Linked DNA regions of Homo sapiens: region 2 is linked to region 1. The links are contacts of gene promoters, found by promoter capture Hi-C in blood cells and fetal thymus (Javierre and others, 2016). All regions are on one chromosome and are shown on one strand. Each heading gives the region's core, a stretch centred on a gene start or on the middle of the fragment in contact. The rest is flanking DNA. Distances are from core to core; before and after follow the strand shown.

Region 1 (4,520 bases), core at 1-2,500:
TGCTCCAGGAACCGCACCTGGAGGGGAGCAGGGTTTGAAGATAGAGAAACTTGGATTTCATGTTCTATGATCAACTCACTAAGGTGCCTCCCACCTCTTTCCGTCCCTCTAAAGCTTTTCTGTGCACTGTGCCTGGCCCTGGGCCCCAGGAGGGGAGGTGCAGACTGAGGCACCCAAACTCACTTTTCCAGGGGGAGATAGGACACCTATCCAGGGCACAGAAAGCACTAGGAGTGCTGCTTGGAGTGTGTCCCGGCTCAGGGGTGGCTGCAAAGGCACTCAGGCTGCTGCCCATGCACTTGTCTACCTTCCTGTACAGTCAGCCCCTTTATATATGGCATGAAATTCATCTCTCTGTCCAACAGTTGTTAAGAGGCCCTTGTGAGCTAACCTCTGAATGGGAAGAAATAATTCTCCCTTCCCAGCTGCCAGTCTAATTCAGAACGTGTCCACAAATCCAGGGCACAGAAACAAACGGAAACACAGAACTGTACAACTATAAAAGTATTTGCACAAAGCCAAAACATCTTCCTTCTTTCTCTCTCTTTGGCATTTATTTCAGACCCACAGTGATTTTTTACAAAAGATCGTAGCTCACCTTGTCGATGAAGGAGGCAAACTTATTGTTGAGGGTCTTGATCTGCTCGCGCTCCTCGGTCCTCACCCTCTGGATGCTGGGGTCGATTTGCAGGTTGAGGGGAGTCAGGAGACTCTGGTTGACAGTGACCTCTTGGATACCTCCAGGAGGGCAGACAGGAAAGCCAGGGCCACCGAAGCCACCTCCAAAGCCAGCTCCGCCACCGAGCCCAAAGCCACCACCAGCTCCACCGCCGAAACCAAATCCACTACCGGCACCACCTCCAAAGCCATAGCCGCCTCCAGCACCAGCACCAAACCGGTTCCTGAAGCTGCCACCACTAGTGCTGATGGATATCCTCTTGGAGCCCCCCAGGTTGTAGAGGCTCCGGCTGCCATAGCCACCCACTCCACAAGCACCCGCAAGGCTGACCCTGCCGAAGCCACCACCACCGCCACCCCCGGACCGGGACACGGAGGTGAAGCTGGTGCGGGAGACAGACGGGGTGATGGCAGAGGCGGTGCTGAAGCTACGACTGCCCCCGCTCCGGAAGGACACACTTGACTGGCGAGACATGGTGGCTTGTTCCTGGTGGAGCAAGAGAACCAGGCACTAGTGGGTTGGGAGGTGCTGGAGAGAACAGAGCTCAGCAGGACGCAGAAGGTGGCTCTGTTACCCAGGAACGGTGATGCCCCCTTTTTATCCCTTCCAGAACTGGGCTGGGCGAGAGAGCTGTCGAGCTGTGAATGATTAAGTGGGCTGGGCATGCCTGGGGGGCAGCTGTGAGCTCACCGGTCACACCTGCACAGTGGTGTGGGGTGCAAACGCTTTCTTCCTGGCAGGCTCTGCTCAGTTAGAAATAACCTTGCCTTGCAGCACTGATCTCTTGGCAGCAAGTTGGTGACGCTGCTAGCAAGTATGTCTTCACCATAGAGGCTGGGGGCTGTGAGCAGCCCAAAAAGGATGCCAGGAACTGAGGGGGCATTGGCATGGCCAGTGTCCTGGGGACTCTTACAGGACCAGGAGTATTGACAACCATCCCAGTACGGTACATGCTGAGCACCTGCCCTTCCAGCTTGGGGAAGCTGTCCATCAGCGGGGGGCAAACGATTCCCCAGTGATCTGCTCTTACACTTTTCCAGGCAGCAGGTTGCTGCAGGGTTTTCCCCTCTGGGAAAGGCAATCTGTAGCCTTATATTCTTGGTTATGTGCTAGAGGGAAAATAGAGTTTCATCCTTTTCTGCACAATTTTTTTCTTAGGGAAGGCACAGCTATCCCAGAGCCCACTGGGCAGATCTGCCTGCAAGGTTTAGGCCAGAGAATGTGGGAAGCCCTCAGCGCCCCCTATAAACCACTTTGACCTCTTTAAGGCCAGGTTTATCCTTCCATAGCTCCTCCTAACTCAGCATTTTTTCTGCCCTTTGACCTTTTCCTTGCTCTTTGGCCTGGGCAGGACTCTGTGGGGGGTTTAGGAAACCCGGGGATCCCATGCAATCCCTTAAAAAAAAACCCTGAGACTCATGGGCTATAGCGTCTCTCTTTGGGGGTAGCTACTCTGCCGGTTCCCCAGCCCCCCAGGTGTGTTCCAGCAAGCTCTATTCCACTAGGGAAGAAATGAGTCATCGTATGTGTTGATACAGGCTGAAGGCCGCCACAAACACATACCTGCAGGAGCTTCTAATCTCATCAGGAACATGTTGAGAGTCTGACGGCCTGTTATAACGGCGAACCACCCTGTTCCAAGCAGCGGGACTTGCTCTGCTTTCTCTATGCTGTAGCCCACAGCCTCCTTCAGGGCCAAGGCAATGGAAAACGGGATTCTAAGTCTATGGATTGTCCTGCCAGAAAGGCTAGCCAGAGCAGGCCTGTGGGCCCAGGCAGCTGGCATGACAATCTGCCAGCTGCTTTAGGGAGGGCCCTTTGAGATCCCCTCTGCAAAACTTGTCTGGGGGGTTGTGGCACCAGGTGGAGGAAAGGGGGTTTCTGATGAGGTTTTAACACACGTCTGTTCTAAACCACACCCACTCTTTTTGGCAGCAGATCTGAGTGGGGCCACCTCTCTGCCGTCCCCCAAATAGAAGCAGGGCTCTCAGGCAGGACAGTGCTTGGGCTGTTCAGAGTTTCGGGGGCGCCCTGTGGCCCGAGGCTGGAGGTAGGAATGCAATGGGGATGGCTTCAAAGCCTCAGGGAGGAGGGGCTATATTCTCAAGAGTAGAAGAACAGGACCAGACCCAGGCTCAGGAATCTCTCACCAGGGCCTGCGGTTGGCCACAAGGAAGCCAAGGCAGTGGGAAAATGACTCCCTGGTGCTGAGGATCAGCTGAAACAGTGACTTCTCACCAGAGGGCTGCGATGAGCAAGCAGCTGACAGGTCAATCTCGGCAGACAGACCAATGGCCGGAGCCGGTCTTACAGGTCTTGAGCAAAATGGTTTGGGTGGCCTCCCTGGCTGGAGCATTTCTGAGACCCTCAGAGATGAATTGTGCTGAGCTCACCATTTTCACATTTGGTTGCTTTCTGGAGAACAGATGTGAGTGTCCTGGAGGCCTGAGACATACCAGGGGACCCTCGGCTCCTGATAGAACAGAACAGATCCAAGCCTGAAGCAAGTGTCTGAGGACTCGTAGTGGGATGCTCCTGCTCCACTCAAAGATCGATATCGGGGTATATCCCCACCACCACATACACTCACAGGTCCCGGGTACAGACCTCACTGCCCTCAGGGAAGCCCCACCCCTCCTGAGACACTGGGACATTCTCTTCTCCCCATTCATTCTCCTCCCAGCTGTGTTGTGAAGAAAGAGGACTTGGCAGAGCAGGAATGCGTTCTGGCTAGTCTGAGGATTGCTAGAGTGTGCCAAGCTCAGATCCATGTGCCAGGGACCAACGGTGAGTGTGTGGTGCTCCATGGGAGCAGGGAGCATGTGGGTGCTCCATGGGAGAAGCAGCAGCACTCTTCTATCCGAGCTTCGTGGGAATCCTCCCATGAGCAGGCAGGGCAGCCCCTCCCTCAATGCCAGACCTGGACAGGTATAAATAATGGAGCCGCTCCTGGTGGGGAGCCAGGCACCAGCACCACTGCAGCTCGGGAGAGTCCCACCCCAGCCTGGAATTTCACTGTGGCAGGAAGGGAGGGATTGTGTTAGGCTCACCAGGGAGCTTTCCTGCTGGGCACCCCACAGAGGCAGTTCCCAGGCTTGGTGGGACATGTTGCTCAGCTTCTCCTCTGGGTGCTGCTTTCCTTGTCAGCAGAAGACAGTGCAGGGCCCGCCCTGCTGCTCTCCCCATCAGAGAAAGGACAGTAAGCTGGCTGCCCTGACCTCTCTCGCAGAGCTGTGCAGGGAATGTAGGACCTGGTCAGCATTTCATACATGGAGAAGCCCTTCACAGACACCAGGGAGAGGGTGGTATCCATTCGTGGAACAAGGGTTAGGCAAATCCTGCCATCCCAGCCCAGGATTCCTTCTCCTCAGAGCCTCCACTCCAATCTGTAGGGCTTTAGTAGAAGATACATTTAATAGAGCATGATAAATAGAACATGTTCCATAAAACAGCATTTGTACATATCCTCTAAGTCCCCCCCAGCAGGGCAGTCTCCAAGGTTAGGGAACATCTCTGCATGGCCCACACCCTCAGCCCAGCCTTGGGCACTGGAAGTGTTCTGCAGATATTTTTTGGAGTGAATTGACAGACAGAAAATCCTCTTCCTCCGCTCCTTCCCCAGATTGTTATGTGAAGCCCACAATGGCAAGAACCTCAATTGCTTTTGCACCAACCTATATCTACACCAACCTATGTATAACAGAATGTATATACATTATATATATTCACATATATTTCTGTGAATCCTCCAGCCCTATGCTGAGTCTCAGAGTCTTGTCCATCTGATTTTGTCTCTCAGTCCGTGTCTACAGGATGAGTCTGTTGTCCCCTTCACACTGGG
Region 2 (4,520 bases), core at 507-3,006, 450 kb after region 1:
AAGACCAGCCTGGCCAATATGGTGAAACCCTGTCTCTACTAAAAATACAAAAAAAAAAAAAAAATAGCCAGGCGTGGTGGCATGCGCCTGTATTCCCAGCTACTTGGGAGGTTGAGGCAGAAGAATTGCTTGAACCTGGGAGGCGGAGTTTGCAGTGAGCTGAAATCTTGCCATTGCACTCCAGCCTTGGGCAACAGAGCAAGACTCTGTCTCAAAAAAAATAGTAATAAAAATAAAAATATACTTACCAGCTCGGTGTGGTGGCTCACACCTCTGATCCCAGCACTTTGGGAGGCCGAGGTGGGTGGATCACCTGAGGTCAAGAGTTCGAGACCAGCCTGACCAACATAGAGAAACCCCGTCTCTACTAAAAATACAAAATTAGCCAGGCGTGGTGGTGCATGCCTGTAATCCTAGCTACTTGGGAGGCTGAGGCAAAAGAATCACCTGAACCCGGGAGGCGGAGGTTGCAGTGAGCCAAGTTTGTGCCATTGCACTCCAGCCTGGGTGACAAGAGTGAAACTCCATTCTCAAAAAAATAAATAAATAAAATAAAATAAATAAACAGATGGTTCAAGTTTGGCCTCTCCCAGTAGGAATCCTCTTTGTGGCCTTCCTAACATCTGGCCTCCGTTTGAAGAATTTATGACAGTATAGCCCCTGTTGGATAATAATTGTATAATTACTGGAACATTATTGTTCCTTCTACTGGGCTGAAATCTGCCTCCTACTAACCTTCTAAACTCAGCTCTGCCCACTAGAGTTACACAGAACTCCCTCTTCCATTAGATTTCAGCCATAAGTGATTATTCTTCCCCTAACCTGTATAAAAGCAGCCCCAGTCACGGTGTAAGGATTTAGCTGCACTGCTGGCCTCAACCTCACCTGCCTGAATGAGCTGGAAAATAATTATCTACACAGAAACAGCCCAAGGAATTAGAATGATAGTGATGCTCAGATCCGGGGAGGCTGTGTCCCCCTGAAGGCCCTGGTCAGATCCTGGTGAAGTGGATGGTGCTGCCACAGGAGGGATGTAGGGTAAACTTCTCAGAGACTCAGGGCACTCCAGTGATCTGGGCCCAAAGCACACAGTTCCTTTTCCTCTCCCCACAATCCACACTGGAGCAGCAGGCTCTAGTGGGCCCCTCCCAGGCTGGCAGAACTTTCCCTATCACCCACTCCCCAGAAGCAAAAAAAGTTTAAAAAGCACCAGCCTAAGGCTGGGTGCAGTGGCTCATGCCTGTAATCCCAGCACTTTGGAAGGCTGAGGCGGGCAGATCACAAGGACAGGAGTTCAAGACGTGCCTGACCAACATGGTAAAACCCCGTCTCTACTAAAAATACAAAAATTAGCCAGGCATGGTGGTGCATGCCTGTAATCCCAGCTACTCGGGAGGCTGAGGCAGGGGAATTGCTTGAACCCGAGAGGCAGAGGTTGCAGTGAGCCAAGATCATGCCATTGCACTCCAGCCTGGGCAATGGAGCAAGACTCCGTCTCAAAAAAAATAAATTATTGTACATTTAAAAATAACTAAAAGAGTATAATTGGATTGTTTGTAACATAAAGGATAAATGCTTGAAGTGATGGATGCCCTGATGAGATTATTATGCATTGTATGCCTGTATCAAAATATCTCGTGTACCCTAAAATAGATACACATACTGGGTACCCACAAAAATTAAAAACTTTTTTTTTTTTGAGACAGAGTTTCACTCTTGTTGCCCAGGCTGGAGTGCACTGGCTCAATCTCGGCTCACTGCAACCTCCGCCTCCCAGGTTCAAGTGATTCTCCTGCCTCAGTCTTCCGAGTAGTTGGGATTACAGGCGCCCACCACCACACCTGGCTAATTTTTTTTTTTTTTTTTTTTTTTTGGATTTGGAGTAGAGACGGGGTTTCGCCATGTTGGCCAGACTGGTCTCGAACTCCTAACCTCAGGTGATCCACCTGCCTCGGCCTCCCAAAGCGCTGGGATTACAGGCATGAGCCACCAGACTCAGCCAAAATTAAAAACTTTAAAAAATAAATTAATAACCACAGCAGTAGCTAGTAGCTAATGGCTACCAGATTGGACAGGACAGTGCAGCACCAGACTGTAAGCTCCCTTTGAGCAGAGACTGGACTATCTTGTTCACTCTTATGCCCTGATACATAACACAATTCCAACACATAAACAGCAGGTTGTTATTTTCTTTTTTAAAGACAAAAATTTGAAATTGTAATTTTTATTAAATTGTAAATAAAATGTTATTTTATTTTATTTAATAACCTATAGCATTTGCCAATATCCAAGGTATAAATACTGCTGTCATGGTTGATTTAAAATGGTTTAATTCTGGGAAGCAAAATTTTCAAATTTAACAATCTTCTCTTACTAGCTTTTGAATGAATAAGCAAATGAATGAACAAATAAATGAGCAAATAACAAACCAAGAGGAGTCTCTGCATGCCTCACCCAAGGAAAAGAGGACAAAGGAGAGTAGAAGAATATTTCAAGATGCCAGCAGTCCTCTCACTCTCTTTGCAGGTCCTCTTTGTTCCAGGAAAGAGAACTTAGTGGGAGAACAATTGAACTTCCTCAGCTTCGCTTCACACACACCCCAGCTTTAAGAAAGCCCAGGAAGAATTTGTTTTTTTTTTTTTTTTTGAGACGGAGTCTTACTCTGTCACCCAGGCTGGAGTGTAGTGGCGTGGTCTCGGCTTCTCAGCTCACTGCAACCTCCACCTCCCAGATTCAAGCGATTCTCCCGCCTCAGCCTCTCCAGTAGCTGGGATTACAGGTGTGCACCACCACGCCCAGCTAATTTTCGTATTTTTAGTAGAGACAAGGATTTCACCACGTTGGCCAAGCTGGTCTCAAACGCCTGACCTCAAATGATCCACCTACCTCGGCCTCCCAAAGTTCTGGGATTACAGACATGAGCCACCTCACCTAGCCTTTGGATTACAGACATGAGCCACCTCGCCTAGCCTTTTTTTCTTTTTAAGGAAAAAAAGAAAAATAAAATCTCATCTTAATCTGCTCCATTTTTTTTTCTTTTTAAAGAAACTTTCCCAAGTCACTTAAACAGTCTTCGTAATGGGAAGGCACTCAAACTATAAATCTCCCTGTCATTTAGGAATGCTCAGTGCAAATGTTTATAGAACCCGGGCACCACTTTCAACCTCTCCTTTGAAGAAGGGCTTTGTAATCCTCCTCTGGGGTCACTCCTACATTCCAAAAATGTTCAGGAAAGGAAGGGAAGGTGCCCACCAGTGGGACAGCTTAGACCCAGGTCCCCACCCTCAGGTTCGGCCCTAAGAACATAAAGATACAAGAAAGGTCACGAGGTTAATTCAAAGCCAAGGAATGTCATGGCAGTAAATGCTGCAGGTGTTCACGGGGAGGATGATGGCCATGATTTGTGGCAGAAGTGAAACCTGAGAGATGCTAAGACTTGTGCAGTGGGAAAGGTGAGAAAATAATGAGAACAAAGTCCCCAAGGCTTGGCTGCATGCCTGGCAGCTAGTAGGTACTGCATAAATACAAGTTCATTGGCTCTCCTTGAGTTGTCTGGCTGGGGTCCCAGAGACTGAAACTTTGCTCTTGGCTGCAGCAGGGGCAAGATCGCAGGGGTGGGTACATGCCAAGCCCCAGGCAGCACGTCACCAGAGAGATAATCTTGAGCTGGTGGGAGCAGCCAGGCATGCAGTGGGGCTGAGCTGAGCCAAAGCACAAAACAAAAAGGTCTCATCCCTGTGGCTATAATCAAGGATGCCAACCCTCCGGCTGCCCCAAGACCCCAAGCCTAGATAAGGAGACAGCATCCTGCCTGAAGAGTGTGGCTCTGTCCAGTCGGGGTCTCAAAGGCCTACTGCCCACTTTGGTGCTGCCTTTAGCCCTGTCTAGCACCAGACCCAGCCACAAGGAGCACCTCAGGACTATGGCATACTTCTGTTGACCGGATGGTCACAGCCGTGGTCAAATCAAAGCCTTCTTGGGGTTCCCTGGAGCTGTCACTCATCTGCCACCACTTTCAGGCCTCTGTCACCCTAACCCAGCCCTTCAACACAAGTTCTCTGGCTTCTTCAAGCTCCTATCAAGTAATACAAAATCACCCTTAAAAGGCTCTATAGTATTGTTCAATTCCTTATCTAATACTTTCAAACCCCAAAAAACTCTGAAAACCAAAAATTCTTCATAACTCACATGCAAAACCTAACATGAAGTTATTTATACTTTTTTTTTTTTTTTTTTTTTTGAGACGAAGTTTCGTTCTTGTTGCCCAGGCTGGAGCGCAATGGCACGATCTCGGCTCACCGCAACCTCCGCCTCCTGGGTTCAAGCAATTCTCCTGCCTCAGCCTCCCAAGTAGCTGGGATTACAGGCATGCACCACTGTGCCTAGCTAATTTTGCATTTTTAGTAGAGATGGGGTTTCTCCATGTTGGTCAGGCTGCTCTTGAACTCCCGACCTTAGGTGATCCGCCCACCTGGGCCTCCCAAAGTGCTGGGATTACAGGCGTGAGCCACCGCGCTCAG

Evidence for each region. Contacts are between HindIII fragments. The CHiCAGO score rates a contact against its expected background, and 5 or more counts as called.
Region 2: a fragment that was not itself captured here is called in contact with the fragment with the promoter of KRT5 in region 1 in 6 of 17 cell types (M1 macrophages, M2 macrophages, M0 macrophages and 3 more); the score reaches 8.0 in M1 macrophages.

The regions. Positions count from the first base shown.
Region 1 is chr12:52,519,144-52,523,663 of GRCh38, forward strand. KRT5 (keratin 5) reads right to left here and starts at 1,251. Exons shown (of 9, transcript NM_000424.4): 1 at 599-1,251; 2 at 1-17. The coding sequence starts at 1,153. RefSeq lists enhancers at 1-338, 3,158-4,123. The HindIII fragment of the contact is 4,587 bases long and covers 113-4,520 here.
Region 2 is chr12:52,966,806-52,971,325 of GRCh38, forward strand. No RefSeq gene overlaps it. Among named protein-coding and RNA genes, the nearest start is that of KRT18, 20 kb to the left of the region's middle. RefSeq lists an enhancer at 4,418-4,520. The HindIII fragment of the contact is 7,174 bases long and covers 1-4,520 here.